Regions from separate parts of the Homo sapiens genome. Here regions 1 and 2 are each linked to region 3. The links are contacts of gene promoters, found by promoter capture Hi-C in blood cells and fetal thymus (Javierre and others, 2016). All regions are on one chromosome and are shown on one strand. The core of a region is centred on a gene start or on the middle of the fragment in contact, and the rest is flanking DNA. Distances in the headings are between cores, read along the strand shown. Region 1 holds the start of MTIF2 (mitochondrial translational initiation factor 2). Region 2 holds the start of RPS27A (ribosomal protein S27a). Region 3 holds the start of CHAC2 (ChaC glutathione specific gamma-glutamylcyclotransferase 2).

The links. Contacts are between HindIII fragments. The CHiCAGO score rates a contact against its expected background, and 5 or more counts as called.
Region 1: a contact is called between a fragment that was not itself captured here and the fragment with the promoter of CHAC2 in region 3, in 2 of 17 cell types (total B cells and naive CD4 T cells). The highest score is 7.5, in total B cells.
Region 2: a fragment that was not itself captured here is called in contact with the fragment with the promoter of CHAC2 in region 3 in 1 of 17 cell types (non-activated CD4 T cells); the score reaches 6.2 in non-activated CD4 T cells.

What each region holds. Positions count from the first base shown.
Region 1 is chr2:55,267,309-55,270,008 of GRCh38, forward strand. MTIF2 (mitochondrial translational initiation factor 2) reads right to left here and starts at 1,923. Exons shown (of 16, transcript NM_002453.3): 1 at 1,861-1,923; 2 at 1,270-1,431; 3 at 261-327. RefSeq lists enhancers at 1,866-2,015, 1,961-2,700. The HindIII fragment of the contact is 171 bases long and covers 1,323-1,493 here.
Region 2 is chr2:55,232,648-55,235,557 of GRCh38, forward strand. RPS27A (ribosomal protein S27a) reads left to right here and starts at 41. Exons shown (of 6, transcript NM_002954.6): 1 at 41-61; 2 at 161-225; 3 at 716-770; 4 at 1,472-1,557; 5 at 2,184-2,315; 6 at 2,781-2,910. The coding sequence starts at 178. RefSeq lists enhancers at 1-120, 141-320. The HindIII fragment of the contact is 1,813 bases long and covers 345-2,157 here.
Region 3 is chr2:53,766,414-53,769,113 of GRCh38, forward strand. CHAC2 (ChaC glutathione specific gamma-glutamylcyclotransferase 2) reads left to right here and starts at 1,391. Exons shown (of 3, transcript NM_001008708.4): 1 at 1,391-1,608. The coding sequence starts at 1,474. All of the region lies in intron 1 of ASB3 (ankyrin repeat and SOCS box containing 3), which reads right to left. All of the region lies in intron 1 of GPR75-ASB3 (GPR75-ASB3 readthrough), which reads right to left. RefSeq lists enhancers at 1,363-1,712, 1,733-1,922. The HindIII fragment of the contact is 6,206 bases long and covers 1-2,700 here.

The DNA.
Region 1 (2,700 bases), core at 158-2,657, 1.5 Mb after region 3:
AGCACACCCGGCTAATTATTTTGTATTTTTAGTAGAGACGGGGTTTCACCGTGTTGGCCAGGCTGGTCTTGAACTCCTGACCTCAGGTGATCTATCCGCCTTGGCCTCCCAAAGTGCTGGGATTACAGGCGTGAGCCACCGCGCCTGGCCTATACTGAATATTTTTTAAAAGAAAGAAAAGAAATGATAACAGAAACAAGTACAGTATAGCAAAGAAAGTATCTTATTAGGCAACAAAGGAACCTTAGGTGGACACTCACTCTGACAGTCAGTGTTATCTGGACTCAGCAAGTCACTTGTTTCCTATGGGCCTCATTTTCCGGATCTCTGTTAAAAATAAATAAATAAATAAGTGTTTGAATATCTGTCCTTCCTATTACAAGACTAAGAGGAGAAAATGAGATGATGTATATACTTTATCATCAGCTATTTTAAAACCATATCACATGTCTTGATACTCGCTTATAAGCTTTGAGGATTCATTGCTTATAAGTTAAAAATATTCACAAGTCATTAACTTGTTTACCTTCGGACAATTATGAGGTTGTGTATGTGTGTGTAATCGAGCAAGCATTTTACCTTAAAAGGCTTATTCGAGTAAAGATCAAGGAAAAATCTAACTTAATGCCAACGAAATAAACACATTAAGATTTAGAAATTCAGGCTGGGCGTGATGGCTCATGCCTGTAATCCTAGCACTTTGGGAGGTCGAGGCGGGCGGATCACCTGAGGTCAGGAGTTCGAGACCAGCCTGGCCAACATGGTGAAACCCCCTCTCTACTAAAAGTACAAAAATTAGCCGGGTACGGTGGCGGGCGCCTGTAATCCCAGCGACTTGGGAGGCTGAGGCAGGAGAATCGCTTGAACCCAGGAGGCAGAGACTGCAGTGAGCCGAGATCAGGCCACTGCACTCCAGCCTGGGCGACAGTGAGACTCTGTCTAAAGAAAAAAAAAAGAAGATTTGGAAATTCATTCAATAGTATTTACACACATTAAATACTTCTAAGAATGGCACATGGAAAATATCTTATTTACGTTTGTGCCCCTGGACCAAGAAGTAGAGTGCTCAGGTAACACAGGATTCCTTGAGAAAATAATTTTTAAATCAGTATGAAACCAGATTTGAGAAGAGCACAGATTAATGGAGTGGGAGGAAGGACCCTACGAGATATTAACCAAAGCACAGATATGTAATTGAGGCAGGAACTGGAAAGACACATTGGAGGCAATAACCCAAATGTCAAAACTGGAAGGAAACTTGTCACTTACTCCAAGCTCCTCATTTTACAGAAAAGGAAACGGAAATCCAGAAGGGTCAAAAAAGCTTCTCCAATGTCATACCGCTAGTTAATGGCAGTCAAGACTAGAACCCAGACGTTCTGACTCCCAGTACGGTGTTGTTTCGCCGCTAGGATATCCTTGTCAAGGAATCTGAAAAAAGTATGTTGCAAATACGTAGTTGCGTTAGGGAAAACGTCTGAATGTGAGCTGGAAGCTTTGGAACTTACCAGAAAGGTAAAAATAAATCACTGCAGAAAAATTACGGATCTGGGGTGGCTCGCCTCAAATTGGAGCCCAGAAGGCCTTGGGCCCATGGGAGGCTGGGAAGTGAGGACCTGCACCCACAGCCGCGCGCGAGGAGGGGAAGCCGGCCAGCCGCTTCCGAGAGAACAGTGCACATGCCTTCGTGAATGCCTAACGTGGGCTCACGCAGGGATTAAATGCATCTTGGAAAGGCTTCCGAACGCACAATGTTTATGAAGTTCGCGTGATTTGTGCCACTGACACGTTAGGCGAAACAACACACACCACCTGCACCGGACAACCCTGGTTAAGGGATCCTACCCACTTAACTCCTACCTACAGCCCCGGGCCCCTGGATTCTGAGCACGGGCGGAGATCACCTTCTGGACCCGGAAGAATGGTCGGTAGGTCAGTCCGTCCCCGCTACGGTCCCCGCCGGGCTTCCGGTCCCGCTGGAAAAGGTTCTTTCCGGAATTCAGAGAGTTGCTGTCGCCGCTGGGGGTGGGACTGTCTGCGGTGTCCGCGGCGGGCGTCCAGCCTGGGAGGCGCTGGTTCAACCTGTGGCTCCTCCCAGGGTCAGCCGCGCGTGGTGAATCGTTTCTGCAGGTCCCTTCCATTTCTTACTTTCCTTTCCTTTCTTTCTCTCTTTCCTTTTTTTCTTTCTGTCCCTCTCCTTTCTTTCCTTCCTTCCTTTCTTCATTTCTTCCTTCCTTTCCTCTTCCTTCCTTTCCGTTTTTCTTTCTCTTTTTTTTTTTTTTAAGAAAACTGCCTTTATTCAATTAGAAGTTGGAAAAATTAACTGGTACAGAAAAAAAGTGTAATCAGCTGGAGAAAAAGTGCCACCCATGAGAACTGATGGCTCCTCTGGGAGGGAATCTGGATACAGTGAGGATTTCTAGGAAGCAAATTACTTCTTCTCTGGGGCTATGAGAGGCCTCGGTGGTGCTTAACACTGTAGGAAACGTTAAATGGAGAATTGTGGGAGAAATGATACCTCCTTCAAAGATACGTGTTCCTAACAAGAAGGAAAAAACAAATGCAAGCGAACAGTGGCGGTAGAACCAGTTAGTATTGTGCGAACAGTACTTTCTGTTTTCTCCTAAGTCAGCTCGTGTGTATGGCATTAGGAGTAATAGAGCCAGAGTGCCTGGTTTCCTATCCCAGCTCATTCCTAGT
Region 2 (2,910 bases), core at 1-2,500, 1.5 Mb after region 3:
GGAGCTCCGGGAAACCCCGTGGGCCTGCGCGGCGTTCTTCCTTTTCGATCCGCCATCTGCGGTGGGTGTCTGCACTTCGGCTGCTCTCGGGTTAGCACCCTATGGTGCCTTCTCTTGTGATCCCTGACCTAACCTGTCTCTTCCTTTTCCTCAACCTCAGGTGGAGCCGCCACCAAAATGCAGATTTTCGTGAAAACCCTTACGGGGAAGACCATCACCCTCGAGGTACGGGCCGGGTGGTCATGAGGAAGCCAAGGTCCGAATAAGGTCCTGAGGTGGATTTTAGGACCGGCGCTGCTTTCCATGTCTTAGACCATGATTCCGAATTTGGGTTCTAAAACTTAAGCTTTGAAATGAGTACCTTTTGCTGAGCAACGACCTAGAGGTGATTTTCGGTGGCCAAAGGCTGGACCTGTCTCCTCTCGAGGGGTTCCAGCTAGTTAGTTAAAACGGAGGAGCTGCGGTGGGGAAGGAGACGCTCTGCCCGCCGGGTGCGAGCACGTGTGGCCCTGCGGCCGCCGCCCGCTCTGGGCTGGGGAGATGAAGGTGCTTTCCGGTAGCCGACTTGGGAGGTTGCCCACTGGGTGGGTAATAGGTCTCTCGAGTAGGTCTCAGCCCTGTCGCTGGTTCGGTTCAGTGGTAATTGTCAAACTAAATGAGTTCTGCTGTAGTTCCTTAATGTGTAACCAACATGCTTTCACTTTAACACTCATAGGTTGAACCCTCGGATACGATAGAAAATGTAAAGGCCAAGATCCAGGATAAGGAAGGCAAGTAGTATTTTGTAGTTAAGAAAACTTAACCTGCGGAGACTTCGGCCTACCTGTAGGTGCTAGACATACCTGCTCTTGGTGATGGGGGAAGGGGTCAGATTGACAAAGCGAAATACTTGTGGAATAACACAATAGACATTGGTGATCGGGGAGCACAGTACCTAGATTGGAATCCTTGAGGTGTATTTCACTTGCGTGAATTTGGACACTTATTTATTTATTTTGTGTGAGATGGAGTCTCCTCTGTCGCCCAGGCTGGAGTGCATTCGCTTGTCCCGGCTTACTGCAGCCTCCGCCTCCCGGGTTCAAGTGATTTTTGTGCTTCAGCCTCCCTATTAGTGGGGATTACAGGCGTGCACCACCATGCCTGGCTAATTTATTGTATTTTTAGTAGAGACTGGGTTTTACCTTGTTGGCCAGGCTGGTTTTGAACTTTTCACATCAAGTGATCTGCCCACCTCGACCTCCCAAAGTATTGGTATTACAGGTGTCAGCCACTGCAGACAACCAAGTATTGTCCCTAATATTAAATGCGGTAAAATGTGACATGTAAAGATTTAGAACCATGCCTAACCTCTAGTAAGGGCTTATTGTCAGCCTTTAGTATCATGTATTTGATTAAGGGGTGTTACCTTATAAGTCTGGAGCACATCACAGGCTTGGTGTGCTGTGACTTAATTTTTGTTTTTTGTCATTAGGAATTCCTCCTGATCAGCAGAGACTGATCTTTGCTGGCAAGCAGCTGGAAGATGGACGTACTTTGTCTGACTACAATATTCAAAAGGTCTGTCTAGGGGAAGAGCAGCCTCTTTTAAAAAAAAAATGTTATTTTGGAAATTTTTTATTTTACTTTTTTTGAGACAGGCTCTGACTCTGTCACCTAGGGTGGAGTGAGTGGCGCAGTCACTGCAACCTCCACCTCTCAGACTCAGGTGGTCCTCCCACCTCAGCCTCCTGTAGTTGGAACTATAGGCACCCGCCACCATGCCCAGGCTGGTCTCAAACTCCTGGGCATAAGTGATCTTCCCACCGTGGCCTCCCAGCGCTGGGATTACAGACGTGAGCCACTCCATGTGGTGTATTCTGGACATTTTGACACACAAAAAGGGAAAATGGCATTCGAATAGCAGTAGATTTTTAGGTAACTCCTATACTGATACTTGAGAAGCACTGCTATAGTTCTCCCATTATGAATTTTGCAAGTTGTATCCCATGGTGTAATGTAATGCATTCTTTAATGTCCCTATAAACTGTCAGTTAAGAATCTGATACTTTATTGGGTTTGGGGGCTGCAAGATTCCCTCAAATGTTATTGTGTGCTGCTACTGCTTTTAATTAGAAAATGCATAATGTTGGGTGTGCCCATTCTTAGTGGAATCATGAAAGCTTGCTTCATTCTTCCATTAACAGGAGTCTACTCTTCATCTTGTGTTGAGACTTCGTGGTGGTGCTAAGAAAAGGAAGAAGAAGTCTTACACCACTCCCAAGAAGAATAAGCACAAGAGAAAGAAGGTTAAGCTGGCTGTCCTGAAATATTATAAGGTGAGCCAGTTAAAGGGCAGAATGTCAGCAAAGTCTTGGCTTATTTGGAAAACTTAATCTTTATAGTACTTGTCAATATTTTCTTGGACTTAAACACCCAATATTATCCCACTTTGGTTTAAATGAGGTATTCTGGAAATGAGAAATTCAGACTTTCTGGGGTTTTTCCTGTTTGGTATTTGAAATCAGTTATGTAATAGGGTTCTGAGTTTAAAGTCGGGTTTGGGTTCAGGTCTTTACCTTTGTCTACCACTTGCAAAGCTGGCCTTTAGTGTTCAAAAGTCCCAAGACTTCTGAATGTTTTCATTGTAGCAATGATAACTGGTGAGAATTTAGGGTGCTTTGGTTTGTAAGCACCAAAACCACCAGTATTACACAGTTAAAAGCTTAAATATTTTGAGTCACTTAAATTAGACTTCAGAATGTGTTGTAAAATTATCTTAACAGCAGGTTTGTGCTTTTCAGGTGGATGAGAATGGCAAAATTAGTCGCCTTCGTCGAGAGTGCCCTTCTGATGAATGTGGTGCTGGGGTGTTTATGGCAAGTCACTTTGACAGACATTATTGTGGCAAATGTTGTCTGACTTACTGTTTCA
Region 3 (2,700 bases), core at 141-2,640:
CATAACTATTGTTAATTTTCTCAGATGTGATAATGGCATCACAGTTATTAGGAGAATGCCCTTATTCTTTTTTTTTAGGGAACTTGTTCTAGGATGAATGTCCTTATTCTTATGAGACACATGTAGAGTATGTGGCAGTAAAATGTCATAACACAAGCAACTTCAAATGTTCTCCATTTAAAAGTATAAATAAAGTAAAAAGGAAGTACAGCAACTGTGCAAAATGGTAATTACTGGATCTAGATGAAAGGTATTGGTCATTACACTCTTTTTATCTGAGTTTTCTGTGTATTCAAAATTTTTCAAAAAAGAAGGGTTAGCAACCATATCAGGCAATTTGAAACCACAACTTAGAGAAAATAGGAAAAGACTTGCTTTTTTTTTTGTTTGTTTGTCTGGTAGCAGCTTCCTGCTGATTTCTTTATAAGAAAACAAATAATACCCCTTGAATCTGAGTGTTTTAGCATTCAAGATCATGGTATAAAAATCTTCAAGAAAGAACAATCACTTGGTAAGGTTTCTGTTTTCACACACAGAGACACAGCCATGATAGTCCAAGCGAATTTCCTAAACAATATTTTGCAGCAAGAGCTCTAATGAGCAGATCTTCAAAAAATTTTAGGATCCTTGACCCCTTGGAGAAACTCATGAAAGCTGTAGTTTCCCCCTAGAAAAGTGTACACCCCAAATTTTGTATACAAATTCAGGTTCCCCAGCTCGTTTCCAAAGCCTTTACAGGGGCCCCAAGTTAAGAACATTTGCCTGCTCTTTTGTGAACAAGCCAATGATAATACTAAAGATGAATAAATTTGTGTAAAATTTAAATATATAAACAATTCCCATTGAAATGACAGCTACTCTTTCACAAGCGTAAACTTCTATTGTAAACTTTCTGCTTTTATTTGAAAGGCAAAAGACTTTTTTTTCAGGACATAAAATCAAATATGAATTACATTCCTCTGGCTGCTGTTATATAGGCAAAAATCTAATTTCCAAAGCAGAACAAAACGTGTTTCTAGGTGCTTTGCTACCTGCGGTGCTGGTACACCGCCTCCGTATCTGGACACGAGTGACGACTCCTGCTCTTTTCTCCTTCCTCGGCCCCGTTAGAAATAAGCCCAGTTCCAATTTCAGAGCCAAATAGCTCCAAAAAGCATTGTGGGTATTGTAGTTTTCTGCACACGGGCACTAAAGGTAGGTTAGGGTGATTTACGGATGCTGCAAAAGAATCCATTGCTTACTACACCGAAGGTCAATGCCTCTTGACACCCTAATCAAGGAAATAAAATAAAGCTGACTGAGATCCGCTCGGAAAATCTTTCTGGATCTAAACTCCCAGTGCGCTTTGCGCCCCAAGTGGCCATCGCGCCTGCGCCCCGCGCGGCCGGTTACTCGCTTACCGGAGGCTTCAGTCCCCGGCGGCGCGGCGACAGCTAGGGTTCACGGCCACTGGGGCAGAGGAGCCGCGAGAAGATGTGGGTTTTTGGTTACGGGTCCCTGATCTGGAAGGTGGATTTCCCCTATCAGGACAAGCTGGTCGGATACATCACCAACTACAGCAGGCGCTTCTGGCAGGGCAGCACGGACCACCGCGGGGTCCCCGGCAAGGTGAGGCGCCGGTCAGCTCCCCACACTTACTGCCCCCTGACCCCTGCTCCCCAACTCCACACACAGCACCCACACCCTAGAGAACCACACCTTAGCGCTTCATGGGGCCAAAGCACATGGCTTGGGGTAACATTTCTGTAGATTTTCCCTGCCACCTGCCCGCCATCTCTAACCCAGCCCGGGCACTCCTTCCGAAGCTGCTTAAGATGCCGGTGGTTAGTCTCTAGAGACGGCGAGAAGCGCGGGCACAGGCGCACGAGCTCGCACCAGGCTGAGTGCGGAGATGGGGACTCCATCTCTCTGCAACCTCTGCCAAAAGAAAAAAAGTCCCATTGGCGGGAAGATGAATGCTCATGTCACCACAGAGTTGAAATAGTAAATCAAGTTGCAAATTCAGCTTTTTAGCAATTAAATTTGTTGGCATTTCTGCATTCTAGCCGACTTTCATGAGCTTGCGATTAAACGTGCATGTTACTTCTAGGATTTCTTTACATCTTTCAAAAGTTTTATTTTCTGACACACAGGATTGCAGAATGAGTTTCCAAAATTTTCGCTGGTTATTAAGGAACTCACTTTGGTTTTCAGTACTAGTGAAGTTAAATGAAGTTCTGGTTATATGAATAACATAGTACCAAACTCATTACTATATCCAGCATTATTTTAATGTTACTTTCTTGATGGTTCTCATAATTATAATATGAAATGTAAGTTCATTGATTCACTTTTCAGTCAGTCCTACAAAGACATTAATCTCAATATATGTATAGAGAATTAGCAGCAGCTCACTGCTTATGCAAATCAGCTTTGTACTGGCTACAAAACAACTAATCCATAAAGAAAACTAAGATTGAGGTAACTAATAATTTGGAAATTGGTCAATGGAAAGTGGAAAAGATCAAGGCGCTAAAGTAGTTTGCACCTGCTCATAAGAGAGACATGGGATTAAAATCACGAAAAGAACCTGAATTAGAAACCATTCTATCTCAACTAGAGTTGGTCAGTTAAGAACTTGGCTTTTAAGTAGACTATACTGGCCTATTGGGATGTTGGACACAGTGACCTGAAAAGGGGCAATGGCTTAGGATAAATGCA